2 separate regions of the Homo sapiens genome follow, and region 2 is linked to region 1. The links are contacts of gene promoters, found by promoter capture Hi-C in blood cells and fetal thymus (Javierre and others, 2016). All regions are on one chromosome and are shown on one strand. The core of a region is centred on a gene start or on the middle of the fragment in contact, and the rest is flanking DNA. Distances in the headings are between cores, read along the strand shown. Region 1 holds the start of MARCHF3 (membrane associated ring-CH-type finger 3). Region 2 holds the start of MEGF10 (multiple EGF like domains 10).

The links. Contacts are between HindIII fragments. The CHiCAGO score rates a contact against its expected background, and 5 or more counts as called.
Region 2: the fragment with the promoter of MEGF10 here is called in contact with the fragment with the promoter of MARCHF3 in region 1 in 15 of 17 cell types (M1 macrophages, M2 macrophages, endothelial precursors and 12 more); the score reaches 24.6 in M1 macrophages.

The regions. Positions count from the first base shown.
Region 1 is chr5:127,027,874-127,032,815 of GRCh38, reverse strand. It overlaps MARCHF3 (membrane associated ring-CH-type finger 3), which reads left to right and starts at 2,258. Exons shown (of 5, transcript NM_178450.5): 1 at 2,258-2,466. LOC105379163 (a long non-coding RNA gene) reads right to left here and starts at 1,473. Exons shown (of 2, transcript XR_007058920.1): 1 at 1-1,473. RefSeq lists an enhancer at 1,376-1,920 and a silencer at 1,917-2,296. The HindIII fragment of the contact is 7,560 bases long and covers 1-4,942 here.
Region 2 is chr5:127,286,856-127,292,391 of GRCh38, reverse strand. MEGF10 (multiple EGF like domains 10) reads right to left here and starts at 1,596. Exons shown (of 25, transcript NM_001256545.2): 1 at 1,336-1,596. It overlaps LOC105379199, which reads left to right and starts at 1,656. Exons shown (of 4, transcript XR_007058921.1): 1 at 1,656-1,814. The HindIII fragment of the contact is 5,574 bases long and covers 1-5,426 here.

The DNA of each region.
Region 1 (4,942 bases), core at 1,009-3,508:
ACCTGGGCAGAAACCTGGTGAATATTCCATTCATGTGGTCTACATCTAATACTTTATGGGCAAAGGCCATTCTCCTAGGCCAGTCAGCAGCATGCTAAGGAACCTCTGGAATTGAGTCAGATGGTCTTCCTTGCCTGTAGCAGTCCTTTGGTCCACAAGATAGAAAATAAAGAACTTAAGGCTGGGCGCAGTGGCTCACGCCTCTAATCCCAGCACTTTGGGAGGCCGAGGCGGGCGGATCACAAGGTCAGGAGATCGAGACCATCCTGATTAACACGGTGAAACCCCGTCTCTACTGAAAATACGAAAAATTAGCCGGGCGTAGTGGCGGGCGCCTGTAGTCCCAGCTACTTGGGAGGCTGAGGCAGGAGAATGGCGTGAACCCAGGAGGCGGAGCTTGCAGTGAGCCAAGCCATAGCACTCCAGCCTGGGCGACAGAGTGAGACTCTGCCTCAAAAAAAAAAGAAAAGAAAAGAAAGAACTTAAATATGGACAATGTTTGCATTACTGAGCAATTTTTCAGGGTCTGCAAAGGGCTATCCCTGCCCTAGTCTCCTGCCCTTCTGACAACCTTCCTATGGACCTTTTCCCATTGAGAAATGGAGCTGAGGAGACAGAATTGAAACTCAAACCAGGCCAGAGCTCACCTAAGAGGGGCCATTTCACTCCTTTTCAGCCACCAGCCCTTTACATTCCTTCTCCCTGGTGACCTCATCAGAACCTTCTCATGAGAGGTCAGCTATGATGCAAGACCTTATAGAGGCCAGATGGCATTGAAATAACACCTTGCAGCTCCCTTACATGTGAATAATTGCCCATACTGAGAGACTAAAACCCTTAGGACTTCTGGGACCTGAATGAGGCAATGGTCTGAAGTGGGCTTGCGCTGGAAGCAAGACGTAAGTGGTGAAGGTGAGTATCAGGGCAGCAGGTTGACCCCTTTCTTGTTATGAGCATGCATTCCTTCATTCTTACTAATACGGGTTAGGTGCCTACCCATGGCAAGAGCAGTTCTAGGCAGGGAGAGGCCCCTACCCACCCACAGCTGACGGTCTAGGGCTTGTTTACATTCTAGGTTTCAGCGGGAAAGCAAGAACACCCAACTCCCTGCTTTTGATTCTATGTTAGTAGCTCAGCGCGCCTGTGCGAGCACGTGCTGCAGCCAGGGTAGGGGCTCAGAAACTGGTTGACAAGATGAGCAGTGGGGTCCTAGGGGGTTGGGCGGGAAGGGCCCACAAGGCCATATTCCAGGCTGTTCGGCTGCGAGTGACCCCTGAGAGGTCGGGATCTCCGAGCTCGTCCGATGTCTCCATCCCAGCCAGGAGCTTGCGAAGGGGAAGGAGGGCGGAAGCAGAGTGGGACAGATGTGGTTCGTTCTGGGGCTTCCTGTCCACGAAGATGGATAATTCTAGCGACCCGCCTGGGATTTTGGAATCCTGGCGGACCCAAAAGACAGCAGAAGTCACCGCAGAGGATGCCACCCCGCACGGCAGCCCGCCCAGAGCGACGGTCTCACAGGTTCCGGCGCCGTCGAGCGCCCAAGCCTCCTGTTGGCCGCCAGCTGTGTCCGCGACGCGCTGGGTCGGGAGGAGGAGACCCGAGGCGCCGGTAAGTCCCCCGCTGCAGGTGGCCCGGAGGGCAGGGGTGAGGACGGGGACGTGTACTGAACTTTGGGAGGTTTGCGGGGCTGGAGTTTTGTTTCAGAGATAGCCAGATCGAGATCAGAACGTTTTCCAGAGAGCCCAGGTTTCCACTTGTGGCTGGGCGACCCGGTCCGGAATTCATCCTTTCTCGGCCCTCAGCTTCCTCCGGGCGGGGTTCCGATGGGGCAGCTAAGTTCCGCGCCTCCTGCCGGTGCCAGATACTGGCGTGTCGACCCGCGCTGCGGTTGGCTTCTTGCTCCACAGCGCTATGCGCGCGGCGGCTCCGAGGGCTCCTGGTCTCTCTCAGCCAACGGCCTTCTGGGGCCGCCGCCTCCCTCTAGAGCTGCTCGGGTCCCATTGCAGAGAGTCCCGCAGCGCCCGCCGGCAGCCACGGCACTTCGCAATAACCAACTTCCCCGCCGCCGGCGCGTCCCGCCAGCCTGCCCTCGGCCGCAGGCGACTGGACGGCGGTTACGGGGCGGTCCCAGCGCCACCACGACTGGCTGTCGGCTCCGCCAGTCATGGGCTGATGACGCCCCGGGGCTGGCTCCGCCCCTAGCGGCAGCCCCGCCTCCCCTCCAGAGCCTGGTCGGCTTAGCCCTGCTTTCCGCCTCACTCGTTGAGCAGGTCCGTGAATTGTCAGCGCGCTGTGGGCGACTGTGTGGCCGCGGCGGCCGCCAGGCTTGCCGCACTCCCCCTGAGGTGCCCGCCGGAACCAATGTGCCCTGGTCCACTGGGCCGTGAGCAGCCACCGACTGGGGGCAACTTGGCACTTAGAACCGCAGCAGGGACGTCGGTTTGCTATCGGGACTCGGCGAGGACGGTGAGTGGCCGCGCGCCGGGCTAGCGGCTCCTCTCGGCGCGGTTCGGCGGCGGCGAGAGGGGACGGGACGCGTCCTGGCGCTCGGCGGTCCGTTCGTCCGAGCGTGACCGCTGTGGGGAGGTCAGGGCTGGGCGGGATTTACTCCGTGCCAATATCCCCACTCCCGAACTTCTTCTTGTCAAAGCATCCCAACTCCGCCCGGGACGCGGTTCCAGTCCGCACCAACTTGGCGTAATTGACATGGGTAGGTGGGGCCGGGACGCGTCCCCTGCCCCTCTGCGGCAACGACATGGAGCGCTGGGGCGGCCTCCGCGCCCGCGGCGTGCGGACCGCGGTTCCTGAAAAATTACCCGCGCTGTGCGGTACGGTAAGACCCGGCGTCCGCGTCTGGATCTCAAGGCTGAGCGAGCGCTCATCGGGCTCAAGGTGGGTCTCAGCGCCAGAGAACTGGAGTACCAGCCGGGTTCTGTAGCGGGGGCTTCAGTGCTCTGCAGCTACTGAGAGGAATTGAGAGCACTGCTGGGCTTTGAACTTTCTAAAGTAATTGCTTTCTATTAGCACTTGAATCCATGACCCTCCTGAGGTGCTCGGACCTCCACATCCACCCGCAAGGGGTGTCCGAAGGACTTCGTTAGGACCAGGCGGGAGCTGCTGTCGGTTCTGGTGCCCAGTGCCTTGGAGAATCCTAGAGGCTGCGAAAGGGATTGCCAGCCTGGTCGGTTGGTGTTTGTTTGAGCACCTGCGTGTTTAAGTGATGAAGTTGAGTCAGGAATTGACAGCAGAGAACTCAAGGTTAAACCTGACACTCCGTTTGTGACTCGGTCTGGGTTAGATTGTTTTCCCCCCTTAATGGTAAGGGGGTAAAAGCAGCTTGTTTTTCTGAGACCAACTACATGCATGTAGTTTATATTATGTGCGGAATAAACAGAATTCAATACGATATTTTCTTACAATTCTTATTTGACATGAATAAGAGCTTTTGAAAATACTAGACAGAAACAGGTCCAGAATTTGGGGATGTTTAGACCTTTGAAAATACATGAAAATGTTGAGATATATAGTTCTGTATGTGTATATGAAGATGTAGATGCGCATATACACACATACATACGTGTATATGTGTGAGTGTGTGTATATATAAAATTAAAAGGTGAATGAGGTAAATATATGAAGGGGAAATTCAGCCTTGAACTTCCCTTGGGTCACAGAGATGGATCCTCTGAGCTGTGGGGTGTTAGTGAGTGTGTATGCGTAAGCATGTCTGCATCTGCCTGGTCTGTCTGGGTCAGAGTATGTCCATGAACTTTACGAGCGTTCAGTTCAATACCACTCAGTGCAGAATCCGCGTTCCTGTTTTACAGCCCAGCAGCCGCCAGCCGGCCCATCTGTTAAAACATAACATGTACACTTCAGTCCGACCACTGGGGTGGAGCCTGGGTAGGGGGCAACTCTTAGCAGAAACAACATGCTACAAACAAAGCCTGCCTCTCAAGTTCTATTTTCATTCAATATTTGGCCTGAACTTGAAGTTTTGGTGAGGGAGAAGGAAGTGTTTGTCTCTAGAAATGGCAAACTGCATTTTGTGAAATAATTATAGCCACGGCTTGGGGAGGGGGAGCTTGTAGGAGAGAAAAAAAAATCCCTCCAGAAATGTGGTGCTTGTCACATCACCATGCAACACGGGTTTACAGCTTTGCAGTATGGCATGTATATCAGAAACTGTTTGCTTTTGCTTGTTAAAATAATGCATTAAAACTGAATCATTTTGCACCAAAAAAAAAAAAAAACCTACCTTAATAGAAGTAAACAGAGCTTTATTGCAGAGGCTATAATTAAGACTGCCTTGGTATTTCTAATGAAACATACTTTTAGGAATTTATAACCTGGACATATATTCATAGTCAGTCTAATCACTAGTTGCAATGATTCACAATTTATAGTTTTAAAATAATAAAAAGGCTTTATCACAAAAATTCTGATGACTAAAAGGGTATGGGAGGAGTATAATAGCTTAATAAGTTCTTGCAGCCAAGTGACTGATACTTTAAAAAACAATAAATTCCTTTAATAGCACAATTACTTTAGTGACAAAATAAAGGCAGTATTTTTGAGAAGCATAGTTCATATTTTTCCCAATAATTTTATGCTCATAATTACATTTCAATAATGGTGTTCATTATATATGGGCGGAATAAACTGAATGGTTTTTAAGGGCTTATCACAAGAAGTATTGTTTTCAATTTTATGGTATATAAACATTTTGGGGAAAACATGCAAAACACTAATCTGTGAGTGTCTTTAAATTTCTAATGGACAATGTAGACATAATAATTTTCCCACCTTGATATGAATCATCCAAATTAACTAGGCTGTTTCTTAGAAATTCAGTTCTTGGGCAGGACTTCAGTCCCAGGGTTTCAATTTAGGAGTCTGGGATGGACCTTAGGAATCTGCATTTTCACAGGCACCCGCAAGT
Region 2 (5,536 bases), core at 347-2,846, 260 kb before region 1:
TCAGGCTTGTTAGTCCTTCACATGCATTAACTTACTTAATCCCTTTAACAATTGTCTGATGTAAGTGCTATTATTATCATTTTGATTTTACATATGTGGATAAACAGATTAAGTAACTTACCCCAAAATCACAGAACTGAAAAGTGGCAGAGTTGTGAGCTGAACCCAGGCTGGCGGGTGCCCAGAGTTTACCAACTGAACTCTTTGAACTCTCAGTGGTAAAATTAAAAGTTCCCTGCAAGCTGACCTCTTGGAGCACTCGTGTCAGGAAGATGACATTTCTGGATAATATAAATTGGCCCCAGTATTTCTGTCCATAAGGAATGAAGCATTTTTATTTGGGAACCCTATACACAAAGTGAGACCCAGGATATAAAGGAGTAAGGCAAGAAGAACAAGAAGAAATGTCATTCTCTTCTGCCTTGGCACAGCATGGTTATCACAGCCTAAGAACAATAATAATGGCTAATTTTGGCTAATAAGATCTCCAACTTTGACTTTCTCCTAAATAATGTGGGTCCTTGCGTGAGGATATTTTCTAAAGAAGCAGCAAAGATATTGCCATCATTCATTTGCTCAGTGGTGTCACTAAGAAAAATACTTCCAGAAAGAAAATTAAGGCCAAAACACTTCCTTAAACCAGGCGTAAAAGTCCTCTAACAAGGAATTTAAAAGAAAAAGATCAACACCGGATTTATCTTTCTTAAGTAACTATCACTTGAAAAACCGTCCCTCCCAGCACTCCTTAAGGAGCCAAGCATACTGACAAGGCCCCTTTGGTCTAAGACTGCGACCTCACACCCCTACTGATCGCTGAGAACTCAGGAAAGGGGAGCATCCCGCCAGCCTAGAGCGTTATCTGCACAATCTGAATACCAAGGACGGGAGAAAGAGAAGTTTAGAAAACAGTGAAGATCCCAGAAAGGAAGTTCAACTGACCTAGAAGAAAGGGCCCAGCTGAAACTGCCTTTCAAGCTCAGTCCGATTCCCCACAAATCTCCCTACATCCAGCTATATCGCCCGGCAAAATGAAACAAACACAAGGTAAGGCAATACAAGGGCAGGAATTATGCAAAATAAAATGCGTAATGAGGATGTCTCTCCATCAAAAATACTCCAGGATTTTCCTACACAATCCCATGTAACAAAACCAAATGCAAACAACAATAAACCCTTAAGAAGCGCATGAACAACGCAGACTGAGCCCATCTCGCCCCACCTCACGCCGCACCCCGGTACCCTGGCTAAGGAAAATGTGACCCCCGCCCATGAGAAGCCTTCCGGCGTCCGGCCAAGGTCCAGGAGCCGCCGGAGTTGAGTTTGCCCAACTCTTACCCAGGTCCAGAGATCTTGAGAATCGCAGCGCAACCTTTTCTCCCCGGTCTTCACCCAAAGCCAGCCAAGACACAAAATCTGTTCCAATCAACGCGGTTAGCGTCCAAGCAGCGTCCCAGAAGAAAGCAATCTTTGGGAGTCTTCTTTCAGGCGTAAAGGTGGAGAAGCGGGAAAGAGGAACGTCTCAACGCGTTCCCAGTCGCCCAGTTTTGCGCACCGGGAAAGTACTTGCTGCAAACTTGAACAAGGTTTTCTCTGTCTGGCCCGAGATGCTGGAGGGGGTGGGGGCGGGTAACCCGAGCCGGGGCCGGGATTCGAGCAGTTGCCGCTGCTGCAGCTGCTGCTGCCGGGGCAGTGGCCGCTGGGGGGTTGTCGCTTGGCGCCGCGCGCAGTCCCTAGCGCAACATGCAGGATCTTCCCGGCCTGACTGCTGCACCTCGATCGTGAGTCGCCCCTGCCTGAGCGGCTTCCACCGCCTGGTGGGTGACCCCGCCAAAGGCCTGGTCGCGAAGTTAGCAAATGTTGGGGTCACCGCAGGGGGTGACCGAAGGGGTGTCAGAGTGGGTGCCCGCCTGATTCCCAACCCACGTTGGGTGCAAGTCCCTCGGCAGAGTCCCTGGGAGGTGTTCTAGACCCTCTGTAAGGATTTGTGGGACGGTGGCCGGCGCCCGAGCGGCCAACTGGAGTGGACGGCGGGTCCTCAGTGGTGTCAGGGGAGAAAGCGCAAAGGTGGGACCCAGAAAGGATGGTGATTAAGCCGTGCCAGAGAATGTGATGTGGCAGCAAAGTACATGGAAAGGTGGGGCGGGGAGGTGAAGGCAGAGGGTGGAGGGTGGGATAGTCTGCTTTACCATGGAGGGGCGGAGAGAGAACTCCCCGGACGCGCAGGAAAATCCCCCCAGGTCCTCGGAGGCCTCGCGCGGCAATTTATTGGGGAATGGCTCCCTCTGCCGACTCGCCGAGGAGGCCCCGGGAGGCCCAGTGATGGAATGTTAAAACCATGAACGGGCTTTTCCATTTGTGGGTTAGACAGGACATGAATTCTGGAATCTGCTTCTCTGACTGTCCATCTTCCTCTTCCAGACTAAAGAGTTTTCCAGCTTTTACAGGACCCCAAAAGATACAAATTTGACTGCTGCAAAGTTCTTTCTTGTGTCGTTGAATTCTATCCCCCTCTCCCCACAAAAAAACAAAAACAGGTTTAAGCCCCATAACCACTCCAGGTAACCATCTCCTACCAGGCTTCTCTTCCTCCCATTAATAAGAACTCTTTCTTTTTAGAGAGACTTCAAGAGCGTTCGAGTCCCTACTCAATAACGCTCCTGGAAAATAGTACAGACTCCATATTATGTTTGAGTGAATAAATGAATGGAATGAATGAACATAGATATGTTTGAAGCCCCTCACCATCCTCTTTACTCTCCCTGGAAATACACAGGGGAAGACTGTTTTGGTGTTTGTTTATTTGTTTGTTTAGCAGTCATCATTGCCCCTTCTCTGGTAACAGTACCTCCATTTTTCTTTGAGATACCATCCCTGCCACAAGGACAGCAGTCTGGGTGGAAGGTCAGTCAGGATGGTCCAGCTTTTCCCTGTCCAGAAGAGAGCAACTGACCTCAGCTAAGCCCCTCAGGCCCTCTCTGCCAGGAGTTGGAACTTTGATCTGGGCAGCACAGGCACAAATAATTCTAGAGGTGATTAATCCATATGGCTGTTTTCTAAGGAAATTGGCTGTTAGTTCATGCCACTTATTACCCAAAGATATTTTGCTTTATGAAACTTGGTTGCCCCACTTTCCTTTTAATTTTTTAATCAACTTTATTGGGGGATAAGTTACATTCCATATATTACACTCATATTAATTATACAGCTTCATGAGTTTTGAATAATGTACACACCCATGTAACCACTGCTTCAATCAAGATAATGAACAATTCCATCACCTCAGAGGGTTGTCTTGCACCCCTTTAAAGTCAACTTCTATCCCACCTCATATTTGGCCCGCTTAGCTGTTTTCTGTAACTACAGATTAGATTTGTCTTTTCTAACATTTCATATGAATGGAATCACTTACATATTCCTTTGTGTCTGACTTCCTTCACTCCACACAATGTTTTTGAAACTCATTAATGTTGTGCCTGTATCTGAAGTTTGTTCCTTTTTATTGCTGAGTAGTATTCCATTGTATGGATATACCACAATTTGTTTGCCAGTTTACCAAATGATGGACATTGGGGATGTTTTCAATATGGGGTTATTATGAATAAAGCTGCTAGGAACAATCTTTAACAAGTCCTTTTGTGGACATACATTATTATTTTTCTTATCTTACAGGAGTAAAATTATTATTACAGTAACTGTGTGTTTAACTATATAGAAAGATGAACTGCTTTCCAAAGTGGAAAACATTTTACATTCTCACCAGCAAGATATGATAATTGCTTCACATCCTCATCAACACTGGGTAGTTTCTGTCTTCTTATTTTTGCCATTCTAGTAAGTATATAGTGGTATCACATCGTGGTTTTAATTTGCGTTTCCTTACTGACTAATGATGGTGACCATAAAAGATGTTTACCAGCTTTTCATGTGCTCTCATGCCACCTGTTCTTTGATAAAGTGTCTGAATTTATTGCCCAATTTTTAATCAAGTCTTTGGATTCTTATTATTGAGTTGTAGGAGTTCTTTATATACCAGGCATTTGTTAGATATGTATATAACCAATATACACTCCCAGTCTGTTTCTTGTCTTTCAATTTCTTAATAGTGTCTTTCAAACAGCAGTTTTTAATTTTGATAAAGTCCAGTTTATCAAGCGTGTTTTTGTGTGTGTGTGTTGTACTTTTAGGTTTTACATAAGTAATCTTTGCTTACCCCAAGGTCATGAAGATTTTCTATGGCTTCTTATAGAAGTTTATAGTTTTAGCTGTTATATTTAGGTCTACAATCTATTTGATGTTAACCTTTGTGTATGGTATGAAGTAAGGGCTGAGGTTCATTATTGTCTACATGGATATCCAGTTGTTTTGGCACCATTTGTTGAGAAGATTATCTTTTTTCCCATTGAGTAACTGGATACCTTTATTGAAAATCAATTGGCCATAGATGAGTGAGTCTATTTCAGGATTCACTCATTATTCCTTTCATTTGATCTATATTTCTATTCCTATGCCAAAACCATACTGTTCAGATTGCTATAACTTTATAATAGGACTCCAACTTAGATGTAATAAGTCTTCCAACTGTGCTTTTATTTTTTTTCAAAATTTGTTCAACTCTTCAGCTTTTGTTTTTGTTTTTATTTGGTTTTCATCTTCCATGTAAATTTCAGAATTTGCTTGTCAATGTTTTAAAAATTCACTTTTCTAATTGAGAGTGCCTTGAATCCATTGATCAATTTAAGGAGAACTGACATAAAAATATCGATTCCTCTAACCTATGAACATTTATCTCTCCATTAATTTAGGTATTCTTTAATGTTTCTCAGCAATATTTTGTAGCTTTGAACATGGCAGTATTACACACAATTTAAAAAATGAATCCCTAAGTATTTTATTTTTAATATTTCATAAATGGAATTATTTTTGAGTTCTTGTTTCCAATTGTTCATTGCTAGTATGGAGAAATACAGTGGAATTTTGTGCAGTACCCTCACATTTTGCAACATGGCTAAATTTACTTATTCGTTCTAGTAGTTTTTCTTTTTCAGTTTGCTTAGGATTTTCTACATGCTCTGCTTCTTTTATTTATTTGTCTTGCCTTATTTCACTGGATAGGATGCCCAGTACAACATTGAATACAAATGCTAAAATTTAGTATCCCATCCTTGTTGCTCATCATAAACCAAAGCAATCTGTCTTGTACCATTAAGTAGGATGTTAGTTGTAAGTTTCATTAAACTCCCTTTATTAATTGAGAAATTCCTTCTATTTATAGTTCACTAGAAATTGTTTATTTTACCATGAGTGACTATTTAATTTTGTCAAATGTTTTTCTGTATCAGTTGAAATTATTATACGGTTTTTCTCCTTTTTTCTGTTAGTTAACTGAACTGCTTATTAAACTTGCCTTGCATTCTTGGGTTAAAGCTTACTTGGTCCATGTAATGTATTATATATTTGATATACTGTTGGATTTGATTTGCTAAAATTTGTTCAGGATATTTGTGTCTATACTCATTAAAATTATTGGTCTGCATTT